Regions from separate parts of the Homo sapiens genome. Here region 2 is linked to region 1. The links are contacts of gene promoters, found by promoter capture Hi-C in blood cells and fetal thymus (Javierre and others, 2016). All regions are on one chromosome and are shown on one strand. Each heading gives the region's core, a stretch centred on a gene start or on the middle of the fragment in contact. The rest is flanking DNA. Distances are from core to core; before and after follow the strand shown. Region 1 holds the start of INPP1 (inositol polyphosphate-1-phosphatase). Region 2 overlaps ORMDL1 (ORMDL sphingolipid biosynthesis regulator 1).

Region 1 (3,730 bases), core at 399-2,898:
CTTATTCTACACAAAAAGTACAGTGTAACTCTATGTATTTGACATAATTCTCTTCATGACTAAGCTGACTTCAAAAGTAGTATAAAAATCCATAAAAACTTAAAAATAAAGTAGGCTCTACATAAGAATGGAAACAAATATCTGTATTGAAAAAATGAATTCTTCCATTGCCTTTATTTTTTCCCTTATGTTCTCTATTTTAAAAGGTAAGAATGAGATCACTTAGCTAATTCACCAATCAAGAGTAGTTCAGTGGATTACTTTCATCCTTATACTATTATCAAGTTGAGCAGGGCTGATCCTTATCAACTTTTCTGGCTTCAAAGCTAGGAATCAGTGTAAAAGGGCTAAAAAATCTTTTACTCAACAGATGGGATCCACTTAAGTGGTCTGTCCATACTTTTAACCCACTGTTCTTTTGAAGTGAACACCATCATACAGTGGGCAAACTTCTGCTTATTCAACACTTTAAAAATACCTTTAAAATGAGAAATCTCCAAAAAACAAGCCGTGGTTTCTTATAAGTGTTTTTCACAGATGTACTAAAGTAAGCGTTTCCTTTCACACTCTTTGCGCCTAACCGTCTACATGATAGGGCCAAACCCAGGTTAAATATTTTTTTCCAGCTACCACTCTGGACACACCAACTAATTATGCACACCTCACAAAACCACCTTTCAAAATGCAGAGAGAATTAACAGCAAGGAAGTAAAGATTTTTCTAAATATAGTCCCATCATATTTATTTCACACTCATCAAGTAGGTCACTGGAGGTAGCTGGCAGCTAGGGACACTCAGATGCATCTCTCAAAGCCAAGGCTGAGACCAAGGGGTCACTGACAGCTGCGCCATCTACCTGTTGCAGCTGGGCCACTGCTCTGGACAACTGTCAGATCAGCTTCTTCGTCCTACAAATACTAATGACTGGATTTTTAAAATCGTTGTTTGCCACCCTTTCTTCCCGCCCCCCAACCCCATCGGGCCGCTCGGGCAGGGCCAAGGGCGCCGCGGGACTCACGAGCTCCCCTCCGCGCTGGCTGCAGCGGCGATGCCGGGCATGCCTGGCCGGGCCCGGCCGGGGGCGGCCTCGCTGCCGGGGCAGGGACCTCGCAGGCCGGCGCGCAGAGGCGAGGAACCCTCCCGGCGCCATCGACTCACCTACCCGCGGAGAGGCGACGGCGCGCGCCGCTCACCAGCCCGGGCCCCAGATCCAAGGAGGAGGGGCAGCGGCGCGGGGACCCTGTGGTGGGTGTCGTAAGGAGGAAAACGTGTTACCTAAGCCGGGGATGAGGACAGAGCAGGAGGCAGCAGCCTTTCCCTCGAGAAACGGAAGCGGCGGGGAGCAGGAGGAGGAGGAGGCGCGGCCCGGGCGCGAGGTTAGGCGAGGGGCGCTGGGCGTGCGGCCGCAGGCGCGGCCAGAGGACGAGGGTTGGGGAGGACGGCGGAGGTCACGCGAGCGAAGGCGAAGCCCCGGCGACGCACGGCCCCGCTTGGCTCGGCACCGGATCCGAGCTTGGCCTCAGCCAGGCCGCCGCCCCCGGCTTTCCCGCGGGACCGCGGCGTGGAAACGCGCGCTGCCGCCTCGGGGCTCCCGGGACGCGCGGGCCCCCCACGCCTGCCCGAGCCGGGCGTCCGCGACGTCACAAGTGGAGCGCGATGATTCAGAGGGAGGGCCAGGAAGGGAAGGGCTCTGGGGTCAGCTTGGCCACGGCTGCTGTTTCCTTGTCGCCGCCCACGAATTCACTTTTAAATCTTCCTCCTCCATTCATCTGTACTCTCATAGGGGACTGCGGGTTTGACAGATGGGTTGGCAGCTGTGAAGATGGACTTCCTGCCAGTGGTATCCGGGTCCCACTGTTCTAATGGAAATGTCAGGTGTACTGGATGTTCCTCAAGACACAGCAGTGTCTCTGGGCCTTGCCTCTTAAGGAGTGGGCCTCGGGCCACCTGGACAGGAAGCGCATCAAGGGTGGGGAACTTATCTCTCTCCAGCCTTTGGTGCTGTGATACTCAGTGTACCTTAAGGATGGTTTGGGTTGAACCTAGGTAGGAATGGGTGTTGGTGGGCGGGGTGGGGGTGGGGGGAATAGAAACCTTAAAAGGGCAACACAAAGTTTTGAATAGAAGAGGCCAAGCAGCCTCGCCCAGAAGCTGATGTTTGTGAATGTACTGGGCCTTCTAAAGCGGCGCTTCACACACCTTTTCACTTCTTGGCACAGGTAGGAAAGGATGATATTACAAGGGTCAAAATGGGGGTAAACAGAAGAGGCTGCTCCTGCAGAAGGCTTCCTGCAGAAGCCCTTGCACTTGGAGGGCTGGGAAGACCCATGCTGTATCTGCATCCCTGTCATTCGTTTCACGGCATCCAGTTGGGAAGCTCTGCTTAAAGCTTTGTCTGGCACGTTTTCTTAGCTACATTTTTCCACTCCAGCTGAGACTGCCTCACTGAGTTGTCAACACTTGGTCTTCTTCAGCAGTGAGGAACCAACAAGACAGGAGGCTGGGTCAATACTCAACTTGGCAAACTCCAGGAAATGGTGCTTAAAACGTTTGGCTTCTTGAATGGAATTCATGGTACTGCTCCCAGCCTGCACCTGGGTTCTCCAACTTGAGACAATTTCTCCCCGCATCCCCCCACCCTTCCCTGGCTTTCACTCACTAGCAAGTGGGCTGCTTCTACTTTCTTTCTCACATTCATTTCTTAGGTCCATTCTCAGAGCGGTTAGGATTACTGTTTAATTAGCCTCATAATCATATCTATGATGGCAAAATCAAGAAACAATTTAAACATGATTCTTAAAAGTAAGGAGATAAATACCAGAGACATAGAAGGTGAAAGAATTTGCCTCTAGGAAGCAGGAATTTAAATTTGGGGAAGACAGGGTGGAGCAAGGGATATAAATCTAGTCCATTTTTCTTTTCTTTTCTTTTCTTTTTTTTTTATTTTTAAGATAGAGTCTCACTCTGTCGCCCAGGCTGGAGTGCAGTGGCATGATCTTGGCTCACTGCAACCTCTGCCTCCTTCGTTCAAGCGATTCTCCCACCTCAGCCTCCCTAGTAACTGGGATTACAAGTGACTGCCACTATGCCCAGCTAATTTTGTATTTTTAGTAGAGACGAGGTTTCACCATGTTGGCCAGGCTGGTCTCGAACTCCTGACCTCAGGGGATCCGCCCAGCTCAGCCTCCCAAAGTGCTAGGATTCCAGGCGTGAGCCACTGCACCTGGCGGAATCTAGTCCATTTTCCACTTTGCTACCACACATCTGCAGGGTTTCTTGCTTGCTTAAAAGCTTTCATTGGCTCCCAATCTCTGATAATATCAAGAGCAAGTTCCTGAACAACTCATTCAAGACCCATCACCCCTCGCATCTGTCAACTCTGCCCCTTGAATATTACACCTCATTTTACTACACCACATCTAGTTCCCTGAATATGCAAACAGATTTCATACATTTGCACCTTTATACATGTTATTGCTTTTGCCTGGGAGAGTATTCTCTTGCTGCTATAATAATAGCTAATGACACTGTGCTAAGTACTTTCTGTGATTTATAACTGTTAATTCTTACATCAACCCTATGGTAAATGTTACTGTTATCTCCATTTTATAAACAAGAAAACTAAGACTTAAAGAGTTTAAGTGATTTGCAGAAATATGTAGTATTTGGTGAGGCTAAATTTGAACCCAGCAATCTGACTCCAGGACTAACATAATATTACCTATTCATC
Region 2 (3,730 bases), core at 538-3,037, 560 kb after region 1:
TCCTGTTGCTTGGACTTTAACAAATATTATACATAATCTGGTAAGAATTTCACATTATACTAAACACTTAAAAGTTTTAAGTTTAGTGGTTGCCGGAAATTAAGGGGAGGAAGGAATGGAAAGTTATTGCTTAATGGGTACAGAGTTTTTGGTTTTGCAAGATGAAGAGAGTTCTGGATGTGGATGGTAATGGTGATGATTGCACAACAATATGAATGTTTTTAATACCACTCAACTGTACATTTAAAGTCCCAGCACTTTGGGAGGCCAAGGCAGGCAGATCACAAGGTCAGGAGTTCAAGACCAGCCTGGCCAACATGGTGAAACCTCATCTCTACTAAAAATACAAAAATTAGCCGGGCATGGTGGCGCATGCCTGTAGTCCCAGCTACTCGGGAGGCTGAGGCAGGAGAATCGCTTGAACCTGGGAGGCAGAGGTTGCAATGAGCCGAGATCATTCCACTGTACTCCAGCCTAGGTGACAGAGTGAGATTTCGTCTCAAAAAAAAAAAAAAAGTGTCTAAGATGGTAAACTTTATGACATGTGTGTTTAAACATAGTTTTTAAAGAAGCTTAAGGTTTTGTGTTGTATACAACTTAGTTTTTTTAACAGCTTTTTTGAGATATAATTCACATGCAATAAAATCCACCCATTTAAAGTGTATAGTTTAGTAGTTTTTAGTATATAAGACTTAATTTTGAAGAATTCTAATCTGGGATAGAATTTTCTTTTTTCTTTCACGCTTTATTTCAACATTGGTCCTTTTTCTAAGTAAGACTTTTTTTTTTCTCATTGTATAGAATCTAGAAAATAGATCATTTTAGTTTCAATCCTTGTTAACTTATCTATCTAAATAGTGTAAGTATACTTCACTGTTTCAGTATTTAAGTTTTGAACTTAATCATCTTATGTGATTCAGGATCTTATGGTGCCTTAGCTGCTGCTTGTTACTCTCTTGTGTTAGCTCTACAGAGTATCAAAGTTTTGATTGACTGTACTGACCATATTATGCAGCCCTGGAAATTGCCTTTTACAAAAACAAAAAATCTTGACAGCGACTTTTCTTGTCTTTAATAACCCATTAAAGTAACGTGAAAAGGAGGAAATACAGTTAGTTGAGGATTTTAATTGAATCCAGTTTAGCAGTACATTTGTTGAAAGATATTTTTTAAAATGAACTTAAAGCATTAAGACAGGAAAACAGGAGAAATTGATTTTTAAAAATTAATATTTATTTTGGCCAGTCACGGTGGCTCATGCCTGTAATCCCAGTGCTTTGGGAGGCTGAGGTGGACAGATCACTTGAGCTCAGGATTTCAAGACCAGCCTGGGCAACATGGTGAAGCCTGAAATTCTGTCTCTACAAAAAATACAAAACCTTAGCCTGGCATGGTGGCAGCACATCTATAGTCCCAGCTATTCGGGAGGCTGAGGTAGGAGAATCGCTTGAGCCTGGGAGGTGGAGGTTGCAGTGAGCCAAGATCGTGCCACTGCACTCCAGCCTGGGTGACAGTGAGACCCTGCCTCAAATAATAACAATAATATTTATTTTCTATCTTCTGGAGTATATTTGAAGTTGACTGGAGGAGGATAAGAATGATGTGCTGGTAGACATGATAAATATGTGTCCATTTAGTCCATTTTATGTGATAGACTTTGTAAGAGCAAACGATGTTTTCTTTTAAATAGTGACTTCTCTGAAATATTTTACACTAATCATCTCACTTTTGTTGAAACTTCCTTTGGCTTCTATAGGATCACTTTCACCGGCATATATTTCTGACCTTCTCTTTCTTCTTATGGGGTCTTCCTTCTCTTTTCCTCTCTTAAATATTTCTATTCCCAAGGTTCTTTTCTTCATCTCTTCTTATGCTATGTATTCTACCTAGGTTACTTCATCTACCCATATTTTCAGTTTCTACCTGTAGAATAAGGATGCTCCTATTTATTTTTATCACCAGATTACTTTGCACCTTAAACCAAACAAGTATAAATGGAACTTATCTTATTCCTGATTACTCCCTTACCACCCACAATCTGATCCTCTGGCTTCACTACTAATCTTATCTAAAGGCCAAGCCAGACAGCTGAATGTTAATGGTAAAGCAATTAATATACAGGTTGAGCATCCCTAATCAGAAACCCAAAATAGAAAATGTTCTAAAATTAGAAACTTTTTTAGCACCAGTGTTGTGCCACAAGCGGAAAATTCCATACCTGACTTCCTGACAGGTTGCAATTAAAATGCAATCAAAACTTTATTTCATGCACAAAATTATTAAAGATACTATATAAAATTATCTTTAGGCTGTGTGTGTATGATGTATATGAAACATAAATGAATTTCATGTTTAGACTTGGGCCCTGTCCCCAAGATATCTCATTATGTATATGCCGATATTCCAAAATCCAAAACAATCCAAAATCTGAAACACTTCTGCTCCAAAGCATTGTGGATAAGGAATACTCAACCTGTAATGTATAGTCCAAACAGGCTGTTTAGAGAGTAAAATGGAGCTTTGGTAATAACTACTACAAGAGATTAGGTATAATCAGAACCATCGTATGCAAACAAGAATACAAGGTCACCTAAGTCTTAGGATAACTTCTTTTCCTTTATATTCCATATCCATTTGCTCAGAGCACTGTCTTCTACTGCTTTACTCTCAACTTGATCCCCATACCCTCATTTTTTCCTCAAGTAAATTACTCAGATAAATCAAATAGTCTTCTTGATGCTTCTCTACCCTTCTCCATTCCAGCTTGGCAGAGTGATGTTTTAAAAATGCATGTTTGCTCAAGTCATACTCTAAGTCATTCAGTGATCATCCATTGCAGTCATGGTAAAATCCAAGTTTCTTGTGTGACATATAAGACCAGTTGATAACAGTGCAGAAACAAGGAGACTTCACCTTGTCTCAACCATCTCTAAATAGAGGCTATACACTAGCAATAAAGAAAATCATCTTGCTCTCATTTTATTGTTTTGGCTTAAGCTTTTCTACTATATTTTCTTTTCACCTGGACCAAGTACTCTTTTGTTTTTAAGAGACTGGCGTGATCATAGCTCCTCCCACCTTAGCTTCCCAATAAATTTGAGGACTGCAGGCACATGCCACCACACCCGGCTAATTTGTTTTTATTTTAATAGTGATAGGCTCTCACTATGTTGCCCAGGCTGGTCTTGAACTCCTGGCCTCAAGCAGTCCTTCTGCACCATCCTCCAAAAGTGCTGGGATTACAGGCATGAGCCAGCATGCCCAGCCATTTTGTTTTTCTTACAGAGACAGGGTCTCACTCTGTTACCCAGGCTGGAGTGCAGTGGCATGATCATAGCTCACTGCAGCCTCGAACTCCTGGTCTCAAGTGATCTTCCTGCCTCAGCCTTCCAAGTAGCTAGGACTATAGGTGTGTGCCACCATGCTCAGCTGATTGACTGATTGAGATGGGGGTCTTGCTGTGTTACCCAGTCTAGTCTCAAACTCCTGACCTCAAGTGATCCTCCTGTCTCAGCCTCCCAAAGCATGAGTGAGCCATAGTACTCAGGGTCTACTTTTATTTTTTTTGAGATGGAGTCTCTCTGTGTCATCCAGGCTGGAGTGCAGTGGCGCAATCTTGGCTCACTGCAACCTGCACCTCCCAGGTTCAAGCAATTCTCCTGCCTCAGCGTCCTGAACAGATGGGACTACAGGCATGTGCCACTACACCTGGCTAATTTTTGTATTTTTA

The links. Contacts are between HindIII fragments. The CHiCAGO score rates a contact against its expected background, and 5 or more counts as called.
Region 2: a contact is called between a fragment that was not itself captured here and the fragment with the promoter of INPP1 in region 1, in 2 of 17 cell types (monocytes and M0 macrophages). The highest score is 7.3, in monocytes.

The regions. Positions count from the first base shown.
Region 1 is chr2:190,341,507-190,345,236 of GRCh38, reverse strand. It overlaps INPP1 (inositol polyphosphate-1-phosphatase), which reads right to left and starts at 1,648. Exons shown (of 7, transcript NM_001128928.2): 1 at 1,276-1,648. It overlaps LOC124906109 (serine/arginine repetitive matrix protein 1), which reads left to right and starts at 188. Exons shown (of 1, transcript XM_047446773.1): 1 at 188-3,730. The coding sequence starts at 921. The coding sequence ends at 1,799. RefSeq lists silencers at 953-1,282, 1,353-1,662. The HindIII fragment of the contact is 2,404 bases long and covers 1-2,391 here.
Region 2 is chr2:189,778,732-189,782,461 of GRCh38, reverse strand. It overlaps ORMDL1 (ORMDL sphingolipid biosynthesis regulator 1), which reads left to right. Exons shown (of 5, transcript NM_016467.5): 3 at 1-40. Among named protein-coding and RNA genes, the nearest start is that of ORMDL1, 3.7 kb to the left of the region's middle. The HindIII fragment of the contact is 2,425 bases long and covers 575-2,999 here.